Linked DNA regions of Homo sapiens: all the other regions are linked to region 2. Evidence: promoter capture Hi-C in 16 types of primary human blood cells and fetal thymus (Javierre and others, 2016). All regions are on one chromosome and are shown on one strand. Each heading gives the region's core, a stretch centred on a gene start or on the middle of the fragment in contact. The rest is flanking DNA. Distances are from core to core; before and after follow the strand shown. Region 1 holds the start of MOB4 (MOB family member 4, phocein). Region 2 holds the start of CCDC150 (coiled-coil domain containing 150). Region 3 holds the start of SLC39A10 (solute carrier family 39 member 10). Region 4 has its middle 4.9 kb from the start of DNAH7.

Region 1 (2,850 bases), core at 347-2,846, 880 kb before region 2:
ATGACAATGTGAAAAAAAAAGACAATAAGTTTTCTTCTATGTGACTTACAGCAACATAGCAAGTATGTTACGATATTAAATATTTTATTTTCTAACCTTTCAAAATTAAGAACTTATGAATAAATGAGATGACTCTCAGAATATGAACAGAAAAGTCTACTTCTGAACATAAAAATGTAATCAGAAACAATGTTTCCACAGAATAAGATGTAAAGGTATCTGAGAAAAGAGCATGAGGAAGAAAAGTGTGGAAACGGTAAAAAGCAAGCATATGTAACGGATAAATTTCCAGTAGTATGAAAACAAAACTGTCAGTAGGAATAACTGACAGCTTAATGTGACTCCAAAATAAGACTTTAAAATTTTCTCTGAAATTCAGCACTAGAAGCAGCTTGTTAAAGAGAACAGGTCACCAGTGAATTAAGAATCAGGAGACTATGTATCCTTGGGCAAATCCACTTAATTCTCTTGGGCTTCAGTTTCCTTATCTGTAACATGAATCTGGGGAGGTAATCAATACCTGTATGCCCCCTTCGAAAGGTGTTCTTTCCATAATTCTGTATAAGAAATTAAAATCTATTCTCAGACATACAATCATAGCTCCACGATTGTTTTGTTTCAATTTTCATTTGCATCACTTTTTAACATTTTATAAACACATCTCTTCCGATTTCAGAGCATCTAGTCTATAGCAAGCCATTTCGGCTAGCAATTAATCAGTTCAAGTCTGGATGCCAATTTTATTTATTTATTTTTAATGTGAGGCATCCCATCTTTTCCAAACCCTAAGAAACAATGCCTAATCAAGCACCAATTTACCACACATAATGCCCTACAAAAAAGCTGACAAAATTATAATCAGTTCATTCTCTGACTATGCTTCACGCATATTAGCAAGGAATGACATCTAACAAGTCACAACTTAGTGATGAAAACTTGCTGGACCAGAGAACAGCTCCAGGGAAAGCGGCAGGGAGAGGTGGTCAAAGGGAAACAAGGAGGAGAATATCGGCACCCGGATCCGGCTAGACAAGCTGGATGGCAGGAAACGGGTAGGTACTTCCCAGGCCAGGTAGGAACTGGACGCCGGGTCGAGGTAGGCTGTGTTTACACCCCCTCCCACCTCAGCGGCCCCGACCTTCAGGAAACCCCGGGGGTCTCCACCAGGCTGGTCGCGCCCCTCCAATGCTAGTCAGCTGGGGCTCAGGGGCAAGGCGAGAAGAAGCCGTTGCTGCTGACAGGCTCGCAGCCCAGGGCTTCGGCAGGCAGGTACCACCAGCAGACCCCACCCGCCCCTCACGCCTACCCCTGGGTCGGAGCTCCGCAGGCCTCACGGCGGCCGCCACCGCCTCAGCCAAATTGAGGGGCTGCAGCTCCGGAAGAGCAGGCCGGGCACCAGTGCCCCAGCCCGCCCGCCTGCCGCCTCGGCCCAACCTCCCCGCAGTGGCGGCCAGCTTCCGGGCGCAGCACTGCTCGGCACCTAGTTGCCCGACAAGAAAAGTGCAGACATGGTACCTGCGCCTTGGTGCCCGGCCTGTTCCGCCTCAGCACTGCCGTCCCCTCCGCCATGACCATAGTGCCAGCGTCTAGGCGGCTGGAGTCGGTACCCGGATGTAGGGACGGCAGCCTGCGCGGGGGGCGGGGCAGAGCGGCGCTCTGCGTCTGGGAGGAGGAGCGGCAGCTGACGGAACAGCTGCAGCCTGCGCCGGGAGCCGTCCGGGTAGAAGCGGGCTAGGCGGAGGGAGAGGGCGAACGAGGAACAGCCGGACGGCGTCGGGTGGCTACTGGCAGGGACTGAGGCACCGGAAGGCGGGCGCCACGAGCCTCTTTGCGAGGGCTGCGGGGCGGTTTGAAAGGTCGTGATCGCAGCGACCGCTGCGGCAGTGTGCACGGCTGCGTTGCACGTTGGTATGGGCTCTCGTTAGTTACACGGGAAGAACGAACTTCGTATAGTGGCGACCGTTTCAGTAAACCCACCTGCAAGCAAATACTTAGAGAACCGTAATTCTGTCCCAGAAGCCACCTAAGGAATCAGGGTAGAAAACAGGCCAGCAGTCTTGGCAAATTCTATAGAACCTGCGTGAAATCGACCCAATCTGAAATCAGACGGGGGATTTGAGTGTCAGTGTTATTTACGCCATCCGGCGACTTCAAAGCCAAGGACTTTTTCAATGACAAGTTTGTTTACGTAGATAAAAGACGCAGATGTCAATTATGTGAGATGAAGAGTGGACATCTGGTTTTGTGCGTTAGGCAGACAGATTTAGCTCGTGTTTTTCAAGTCAGAAGCAGGAGGAGGAAATTAGTAGTCCTTGACAGGTGGTGAGGGTTTTACATCTTACAGGATTCCACATTTCCTTTGTTGCAAATTTTAAGTGTTCTCTCTTAAGAAACCACAGCATTTTCGCAAACTTTTTTTCCTGCTTAGAAACCTTGAATCTTTTATCTGGGGTGAGGGAGGCCTTGGGATAGCAGATGGGAAGACAGTTCAAAAAGTAAAAAACGCATACAGTAGCATGATTTCCAAAAGAAGAAAACATCAAGTGTCCCTAGATAGAAGGTGTATTGAGAATGCTGAGGGAAGGGCCATGTAACAGCTTCCAGAAATGGAATTTGAGAGGAGAGGAGAGGTTGAGTGGGTCTCTAGCTGAGTAATTGTCAGTGACTTAGAACTAGGCATTGAAGGGTTTAACAACAGGAAGTTGGTTCTCTCTGGAAGATGTATTGACTGGTAACTCTTCAAGAATAGGGACTTAATTTTGCCCTCCCAGAACCAGCGTCTACATATGAAAAGATTATTCGTTCAACAGATACTCATTAAGCCCCACTATATGGTAGGCACTAATGTAC
Region 2 (2,836 bases), core at 114-2,613:
GGCAGGAGAATGGTGTGAACCCAGGAGGCGGAGCTTGCAGTGAGCTGAGACTGCTGCACTCCAGCCTGGGCGACAGAGCGAGACTCCGTTTCAAAAAAACAAAAAACAGAATACACAGAGCCTTGAAGGCCATTGTAGAAGTCTGGCTTTTGCTGTCAGTGATTCTCAGAGTCACTGGAGGTCTATAGCTGAGGAATGCTATCCAACTTTCCTTTTAACTGGATCATTTTGACTCCCTCCCACTCCAAATGGTGGAAGAACAAAAGCAGAAGTAGAGATGCTGCTGGCCAGAACCAAGGTGACAGCAGCGGTATTCCTACTGTAAGAAGTGGTTAGTGGTTAGATATACTTGAAAGATAGCTTTTGCTGATGCATTAGATATGAGATATGAGGGAAAGGAAGAAGCCAAGATTACTACAGGGTTTTTGGCCTGGATGGTGCTATCACTGAGACAATGCAAACTTATTAAGGAAGAATCCGTTTTGTGGAAAAGATAAAGAGTAGTTTTTAAAATGTCAAATTTAAAACATGAAAGATACCAAATACATTATTGAATTTGTGGATCTGAAGTTTGGGGGTGAGGTGTGGACTGGAGACTAATTTCTGAAGAGCTCAAGAAAACCATAAGGCGGGATAACAGAGAACACAAAGGATTAAAGGACCTAGTCCTGAGCACGCCAAGATTAACAAATTAGAAGCATGTGTTGGGGGGCATTTAAGACGGACTAATACGAACTTCTCTAAAGTGGGGTTAAAAATAGACATTTTTCTATCTTTAGAGCCTAATACAGTGCCTGGGAAATTATAGGTGGTAAATAAACAGGAGAATACTTCGACAGGAATTTAACGAATGTCTATTCCGTTCTAGCAAGAGCGCCAGGTACTGCGGAAACCGTAAAGAACAAGTGCAAATTCCTGACACCTATATTCTGGTAAGCAAGCCAGGGAGGATTAACTGGTGGCAAAAATCAAACATTAACGCCGAAATAGCCTTCCCAGGAACCTATTAAACTCCAACTTAACACATAAATAAAGGTGGTATTGGGCTTATCTGGAGGCTTCGGTGGCTATCTCCCATCCCTCAGCTGGAGCCAGGCCAATGCAAACTTCGCTCCTAAATGGCTTTCACCGGCAGCCAACGCCAAAGCGCCTTAAATCAGGGCCCTGAGGTCCAGGGAGTGAGACTGGACTCCGTCAGGACAGGGAGAGGGCGCCAGGGAGTGGTGACTGTCCTTATCTGAGCCGAAGCCTCGCGAGCCTCCGACCACCCCTCACCAGCCCGGGGCCCGGCAGCCTCACCTTACAGTCCATCTGTCCGCCTGAGGCTCCGTACTGCAGCAGGCGAGCGGGTTTCCGTGGAACTAACACAGCATTTTAAACCAACCCGCTCCCCGGCGCAGTAGCTCCGGTACGCAGGCGCACCCGTGGCAGGGCATGTCGGGAACTGTAGTTTTCCCGGCCCAGGAGGGCCCTCAGCCCTGGGCGGGACCCAGGCCGGCATCCGGCGGCGCTCAGGGAATGCGTAGCGCCGTGAACCGAATGGCGGCAGGCTCCACTGTGCTCGCGAGCGGGGCACGCCGGGATATGTAGTTTCCGGCGCCTGCCCTCCGGGGGGTCCTGTGCTGCCCACTTCACAGTGACTTGTCTCCGCCTGGTGAACTCGCGGTGTTCTGCTAATCTTGGTAAATACATACCCTACAGCAGAGTAACGAGCATAAAAATTGGTTAAAAATTCAGAGCTTAAACATTCTTCTCGTTAAAGGAAAAATCAAGTCCCTCTTCGTCCTCGTCCATGATGGCCACATGGAGAGTAAAACACAGAAATCTGTTTTCAGGTCTTTCGTCTCTTCAGCATAAATTATTTCTTGCCCTGTCTACAAGTTAATAGGTATTTGTAAATCTGAGTGTAAGTAGCTATGAAACGGAAAAGAGCATTGAGCTGTCCCTGGTTTTTTTGGTGGTTTGCTTTTTTGAGATAGGGTCTTCCTCTGTCGCCAAGGGTGGATTACGGTGGTGCGATCTCGACTCACTGCAGCCTCGACCTCCCGAGCTCAAGCGATCCTCCCATCTCAGCCTCCCCAGTATCTGGGACCACAGGCGCGCGCCACCACGTCTGGCTAATTTTTGTATTTTTTCGTGGAGGCGGGGTCATCACCATATTGCTCAGGCTGGTCTCTTTGGGCTCGAGCCATCCGCCCACCTCGGCCTCCCAAAGTCCTGGGATTACAGGCGTGCATCACCACACCAGCGTTTCTGAGTTGTTTTGCTTTAAGAATATGTATTCTCACTTAAGGGAAAGCCTTCTATAGTGCAAAGACGCGGCTTTGCGTTTTGGTAGCTGGACAGAACACCTGTTATCCCTGCCAGGGCAATTAAAATGCATTTCTCTCTTCTCCCTGAGAGTGCAGCCAAGAATCACTTCAGCCCTCTCATATAAGCAATCAGATCCGAGATGAGAGCTCATTTACTTAGCCTGACAATTGATCTTGCTATTCTAATTCTTTTCATAGCGGAGCCTCAATGTGAGATGCAGAGACTGCCCATCAAACCACAGCCATATTCATCAAGCTTTGAGCCGATCCGGTGAAGAGAAATGAGCACTGCATACATTATTCAGAGAAAGGGACCAAATAAAGCTTTTAATAGGAAATGAAAATGTATTTTAAAGCGTCAGTGCAAACAGCCAATTATTTTCATTATGTATGTTTTATCTTGCAATGACCTCTGGTTTATCAGTGGAATTAAGAGATGAGTGATACATGTATCCACGTGTTTTTGTGTAATGAGAGTTTTCACCTTCTCCTCAAATCTCCATATTAAGCAGCAGTCAGGGAAC
Region 3 (2,896 bases), core at 344-2,843, 980 kb after region 2:
GCCTCGCCCGCCCGCGCCTGCGACGCCATCCGCGGCCGGCGCGCAGCCCCCTAACCGCCGCCACCCGCCCAGCGGTCACTCCCCCACCCCGGGCGCGGCCCGCGAGGCTCCGCCAACCTCCACAGGAAGGTGAGGGGGGCGCGAGGCTCCGCACGCGAAGTGGATGCCGCCGGCTCCCGATCCCGCGGCCCGCAGCAGCCCAGACCGCACACGAGGAGCCGCGGCGCCCAACACTCTGCCCACCACGCGCTCTGCTTCGGCTGGCCGCCGCCGACTGCAGCAGCTGCGGGAACCCCAGCGCCCGCATCCCCGAGGGAACCAGCCCCGACTCCCCGGTTCTGTTCTCCCTTTCTACCCCCACGCCGTCCCGGGACTCGCAGTCTCCGCCGCGCACGGGGCCGGTTCTGGGGGAGGGAATGTAAACAAATCGGGGTTTTATAGTTACCTCACACTCGAGTGCCGTGTGCATCTCCTCTCCGCTCGGTACCAAACCCCGGCTGCACCAAATCGTGTATTCACCAAAGCAGACTGCGCTAACTGCGTCGCAGAAACCGGCGCGTCTGACACCCTGCTACGCTTGCGGCGTACAAGGTCCACTCAGCTCCCTGCGCAGCCGCACCCCGTCCGCCTATGGGTGCTACGCTATGGGCGTACACGCGCCACCTAGCTATTCACTTCGGATAACGCCAGTTGCGTAAAGGAGTCGCACTACTCACGGATTCCACATGGATCGTCCGAGGAATAGGAAATTCAAGTCTACGCAAACTGCGGAGTTCCGTGGCTCCGCGCTAGTTTTGTTCCAAGAAAGAACGCCGCGGGGGAGTTGGGGCGGCTTCTTAACGCATGCGTGGAGCGCCCTTTATCATTCGCCTTTTCTCCTGGCTTTCGAACGTCGGTTGCTGAGGCCTTGGGCAAGGCGAATGAGTAATGGAAGCTCTAAACCCAAACGCTTTAGCCAAAAAGCTTCAGAGTGATCAACTGGAATGTTCATCTGTATACGAGTTAAACATCTACGTTAAGTTAACCCCGCCCCCTTTGTTAAAGTAACCTTTTCAGTCTCTTAGGGCAACAGCGAACTTTATTTAGTGCTAAGTGCGAGGTGTTTTGCCTAGCTCCCCTTCCCACCCATTTAATTCTAAAGCACACTTACTGCGGGTCTTCCAAACCTAAAAGAAAAAGTTGAGTCCTGAGAACATGTCACACATGTAGAGAAATTCTCGAGGCTTTTGGCAACTTTCCAAGGTCTTCACTCCTCTACTCCTCAACTGATCGACTATTTCTTAACACTCTATGACAAAAAAATCCCGATCCAGCCAAGCAGTTCCATGGACTTGTGCCTACACCGTGCTCATTCTTGCCCTTTGCTCACGCCATACATCCCATCTAAATTGTCTCCTCCCCTCTTAAGCAACCACCAACCCACATTTTCTTAAAAGGTGACTCTGGACGTCTTATTTTTGCTTCATTACTCTGCTTCCTGGCTCTTACTTAATCCACATGTTGAGGCGTATCTGCATTCCGCCTGGGGTGCCTGTGTTTCTATATCCAACCAGAATCTACTTAACACAGCGAGTTCTGGGGGTGCCTTACTGGTGTCTAGTAGAGAAAATAAAACCATGAACAGCAGTAATCGCAGGCTTGACTGTGTGTCAAGTACTCCACATATATATTAATTTAATCACCATAACACGGTGAGGTAGGAAACTGAGGCACACAAGACTTTAACTTGCCTGGTATCACAGAGCAGGTAGAGAAAAGAGTTGGGATTTCCAAACCCATTCAGTATGGACGGCTAGGTAGTCCCGCTAACCTGCATATTATACCTTCATGAAAGAAGGTTATTTTTTGTTTTGTATCTCTACAAAAAACATCCAAAACAACGAAAATGGTGCTTGATAAATGCCTACTGATTGCCATACGTAGTTCAGAACACTGAACTACTCATATGCCCTTTTCCTTGTTTGGAAAGCCAGAGCATGGACCTCACTCCTGCTTACAAAGGGAGAAGTCCTGAGGTGTGGAGAAAAGAGATTAAGCCTGAGTCCTAGTTTCAAGTCTCACCATTGCCACTAAATGTGAGACAATAGCTGTGGTCCTCAGATTCATTGATAAATTAAGGGGATCGTTTTAAATATATTCTAAGGTTCATCCTAGAACTAAAGTCCTTAGAGTTCATAAAATCATGATAGTACATCCTTTGTGTGCAAAGCATAAGAAGCTTCCAAATTAGCTTGATATTTTATGGCTCATACTTATTTTATTGAACACATTATTATCAACACCCTTAAAACATACATAACCTTTCTTTCAAATATCAATAAGATATAGCGCTTGCAGTCCTTACATTTTAGGGCACCTACACTGCTTTTTTAGTTATGGATATACAAGGCTAATGTTCAGCTGGTACACACAAGTACGGCTGAACCAACTAATCAAATACTGAAATACTTCAATGCAAGTTGGTTAACAGCTGCAACTCTGAGTGGTATCCCCCCATGCTTCTCACCCCTGTGCCAGTCCTTCCTCTCAAGATTCCCCAGACCTCCACATTTTAGGAACTAGTGGGTTAATACCTGGCTAAGATAGAGCCCTTTGGACCCAGCTCTTATTAGTCACTCCCATTCTACTTGGTTGGTGCCTATTCTTTACTAATTGTTACATATTTTAAATGTCATCCCTATAGAAAACTATGTGGTAAGCAACTTGAAAATAGAGACTGTGTCTCCTAACACTTTTTAAACTCACCCAAACATTTATTTACTTTCAAGTGTATACACACTGATTTGGGCAGATTTTCAAGCAAAATTATCAGATAGAATAAATGATTCTCTGCATACTAGCATATTACTTTTCCTACTGAGAAAAGGAATCTCAGAAAATGACTTGCAGGCTTACA
Region 4 (2,886 bases), core at 296-2,795, 570 kb after region 2:
TCTTTCCTAGAACAGAAACTGGGATCTTGGCTGCTCTCTGTATCTCTCATGCCTAGAATGGTGTCTGGCCTACTGCAGGTAGGAAATATTTGTTGACTGAGCAAGATGAGGATAATGAGTACAAGTATCAGTTCACAAAGAGAGAAGCATGGCAAAACAACAACAACAAACCAGATTCTGGACTCTGTTTTAAGTTGTACATTTGATTTTCCCAATCTTATACTCCATCCTAAGGTAACAAAAAAGCTGCCACACTGCCTCAAAGGAGGATGTAAAATAAGCTCTAGCACTCCTTGCTTCCTTCCACACATGCTACAGTTTCAAAAGCAGGAGGTAAAAAAAAAAAAAAAAAAGTAGTAACAAATAACAACATAAAAAGTCAGAACTCAGCAGCTGCATAAGCTTACACAATATATTTTAAGGGAAAAAAAAAACATAGTCTTGTAAAAAATTCCCTTAGAATCAGCACAAGTTTGGGCATAAAATTCCTAAGCAAACATTTGGTTCATGTCTAATAAAATCATTTTAGCAAAAAACATCCAAACCATAAGAGAAAACACAAGATCATAAATGTAACTGAAGTTCAAGCTCAGGGAACCAAAATATCAGTAATTCAATTTCTTTTCTTTATTTGGTCTTTCATATTTGGTTAAATGGAGGAACCAGTTTTAGTCCCCAGATACCTTCTTTTAAAATGGACTTCCATATTTATAGATTAGTAAACCAAAAGCATACAGACAGCTTTACCCAAATCAAGCACTAAGTGCAAAAGAGGATCTTTCAAGAGACAAATGACAAGATTGATAAAGTTCCTTTTTATAATTTGTGAGATACAGTGGTCCAACATGTCTAAACAAAAACTTCATTCAGAATATTTTGAGAACTGTATTGATTCTTATCAGGATTTTGCGCTGGTCTTAACCTGAACAGTGGGGACAGAGATTAGCTAGCTTATTTCTCCCATCTCAGCATTCAGTATAATTGGTGACATTACTGATTATTGTGAGAATTACTCTAAGAAGTCAGTGCTGAAAGCCACATTCCTCTTGCTTGACAGGGATCACGATAACTGACAAATACAAAGGAATTGTCCTTGCCAATTTTTAAAAAATTACTTTCCTTCCATAATTCTGGCAAGATACCCACCCAAAGACAAATTTAGAAACAGGATTCTGCAAATCAGAGGTTGACTCCAGGGTTGACCTGAAAATAGAGGTTGACTCCAGCTATATATGGTGGCCTAGTGGAGGCAATGTAGCAAGTCAGAATAGCCTGATGTTTGTAGATTTCAACGATGGCTTTTGAGATTGAAGGTGAATGGACAGTGAGATAGCAGAGGATTGAAGAAGGAAAGCTGGCAGATGGTAAAGAGTGGAAGGTGGATGGCTAATGTTTTTAGGCTCATCTGTGTCTCATGCTGTTGCTGTGAATCCCTCAGTGTCTCCTGGCCTGCTCATGTGGACTATGACCCTCCATGAAGCAATCCAGTTAACCTTGAACTTTTGCCAAGAATCTGAAACTCCTTCTAAACACCTCGGAACTGCTGGGACTAGTTCTTTTGGCATCAGGTTGGCAGCTGCTAAACGTAGTACACCTTTATATCTGTTGGTTATTGCCTGTGGAGTAAACCCTTGAGGCAATCTTTTTTTTCTTAAGTGCTTTTTGCTTCTAATTGGCTGACTGAACCCCCTAGTACTTTACTGACTTTCAACGCTTATCACTGTACCCTTAGGCTATGAAACAAAACTACATCTTCAACCCATTCTGAGAACTCTATTCTTATCTCCAGGTCTTTAATGAAATTTGTCTCTCCCTCAAGCCTATTTCTGTTTAGGCTTTTCCATTCTTCCAAGTTTGGGATATGGGGTCTGCAACATTTATCTTCTGTTTTCCACTATGAATTCTTACTAATCTTAGGCTCATAGCATCTCCTCTCCTTGACTCAGCTTCATTCGTTGAAGACATCGGCTCACAGTTCTCCCCTACGCTATGCTACTTCAGCATCCATGCGAACAGCCATAGCTTGAGGAACTTAGTTCCTTGACCTTCCATGGCAAAGTCCTTTACTTCAGTCCCCACTTCTGTGGCCACACTGGGGACATTCTCAACACCTGGAATAGCTCTACTTCTGAAATCACAGAGACAATACCCTCACTGCTTCACTTTGTGTTTTGAGAGTTAGTTTCTCTCACTATGTCACCCTTTCTGAGACCCTCTCCATCCCATTCCCTTTCTCCACAGTTAACAGTCCTTTCTTCCTCTACTCATTATTTTAGTTTCTGTGATTTTTTATTTCAACTTCACTCTTATCAGATTCTCTATTCTCATGCTCTGTTCTCCTGTTATACCAGCCTGGGAAAGACACTGTGTGTTTGTCTTCTCTGAACCTAAGTCTGGTCTGTTGAAGACCTTTGGAGAGTGGTGCAGAGCCAAGTGGATAGTGGCTGGCGCTGATTCAGAGGCTTCAACTTCAGCTGAGCTTTTCCTCTATTTCTTTAATCACTTTTGTTCTCTCTCCATTTCTGCCACATAGTCATTGAAACTTCTTCCTCCTCAAATTTTTGACCATCCCCTGCCTCCTACCTTTCTTCTCGTTCTTGAAAGGTGATTTTGCTTTCTATACCACAGAAAAAATAAAATTCATTTTTTTTGGGGGGGGATGTCCCCAACTACACACAAGCAAGCTTTAAACACCCACATTTCCACTCATCCTTCCTTCTTCTTCCTTTTACAAGGCGTGCTTATAAGATCTCTCCATCTGAAATTAATCCTATCTCCTTTTACTTTTTCCTCTATCTTCATCTTCTCCTTTCCTATTTGCATTTAAACACAAACAAAACTTTCCTATTTGAAAAAATATAGTGCCTCTCTCCCTGAATCCATTCA

Evidence for each region. Contacts are between HindIII fragments. The CHiCAGO score rates a contact against its expected background, and 5 or more counts as called.
Region 1: the fragment with the promoter of MOB4 here is called in contact with the fragment with the promoter of CCDC150 in region 2 in 1 of 17 cell types (total B cells); the score reaches 6.2 in total B cells.
Region 3: a fragment that was not itself captured here is called in contact with the fragment with the promoter of CCDC150 in region 2 in 1 of 17 cell types (fetal thymus); the score reaches 6.1 in fetal thymus.
Region 4: a fragment that was not itself captured here is called in contact with the fragment with the promoter of CCDC150 in region 2 in 8 of 17 cell types (total B cells, monocytes, total CD4 T cells and 5 more); the score reaches 9.3 in total B cells.

The regions. Positions count from the first base shown.
Region 1 is chr2:197,514,812-197,517,661 of GRCh38, reverse strand. MOB4 (MOB family member 4, phocein) reads right to left here and starts at 1,596. Exons shown (of 8, transcript NM_015387.5): 1 at 1,516-1,596. The coding sequence starts at 1,575. All of the region lies in intron 2 of HSPE1-MOB4 (HSPE1-MOB4 readthrough), which reads right to left. RefSeq lists a silencer at 1,538-1,757. The HindIII fragment of the contact is 18,120 bases long and covers 1-2,850 here.
Region 2 is chr2:196,638,242-196,641,077 of GRCh38, reverse strand. CCDC150 (coiled-coil domain containing 150) reads right to left here and starts at 1,363. Exons shown (of 28, transcript NM_001080539.2): 1 at 1,300-1,363. The coding sequence starts at 1,311. LOC105373823 (a long non-coding RNA gene) reads left to right here and starts at 1,393. Exons shown (of 2, transcript XR_923747.3): 1 at 1,393-1,682; 2 at 2,511-2,650. RefSeq lists enhancers at 502-1,039, 1,040-1,577, 1,562-1,611, 1,632-1,851. The HindIII fragment of the contact is 4,677 bases long and covers 1-2,570 here.
Region 3 is chr2:195,654,831-195,657,726 of GRCh38, reverse strand. SLC39A10 (solute carrier family 39 member 10) reads right to left here and starts at 501. Exons shown (of 10, transcript NM_020342.3): 1 at 446-501. RefSeq lists silencers at 33-152, 183-232. The HindIII fragment of the contact is 1,255 bases long and covers 966-2,220 here.
Region 4 is chr2:196,072,330-196,075,215 of GRCh38, reverse strand. No RefSeq gene overlaps it. Among named protein-coding and RNA genes, the nearest start is that of DNAH7, 4.9 kb to the right of the region's middle. The HindIII fragment of the contact is 2,282 bases long and covers 405-2,686 here.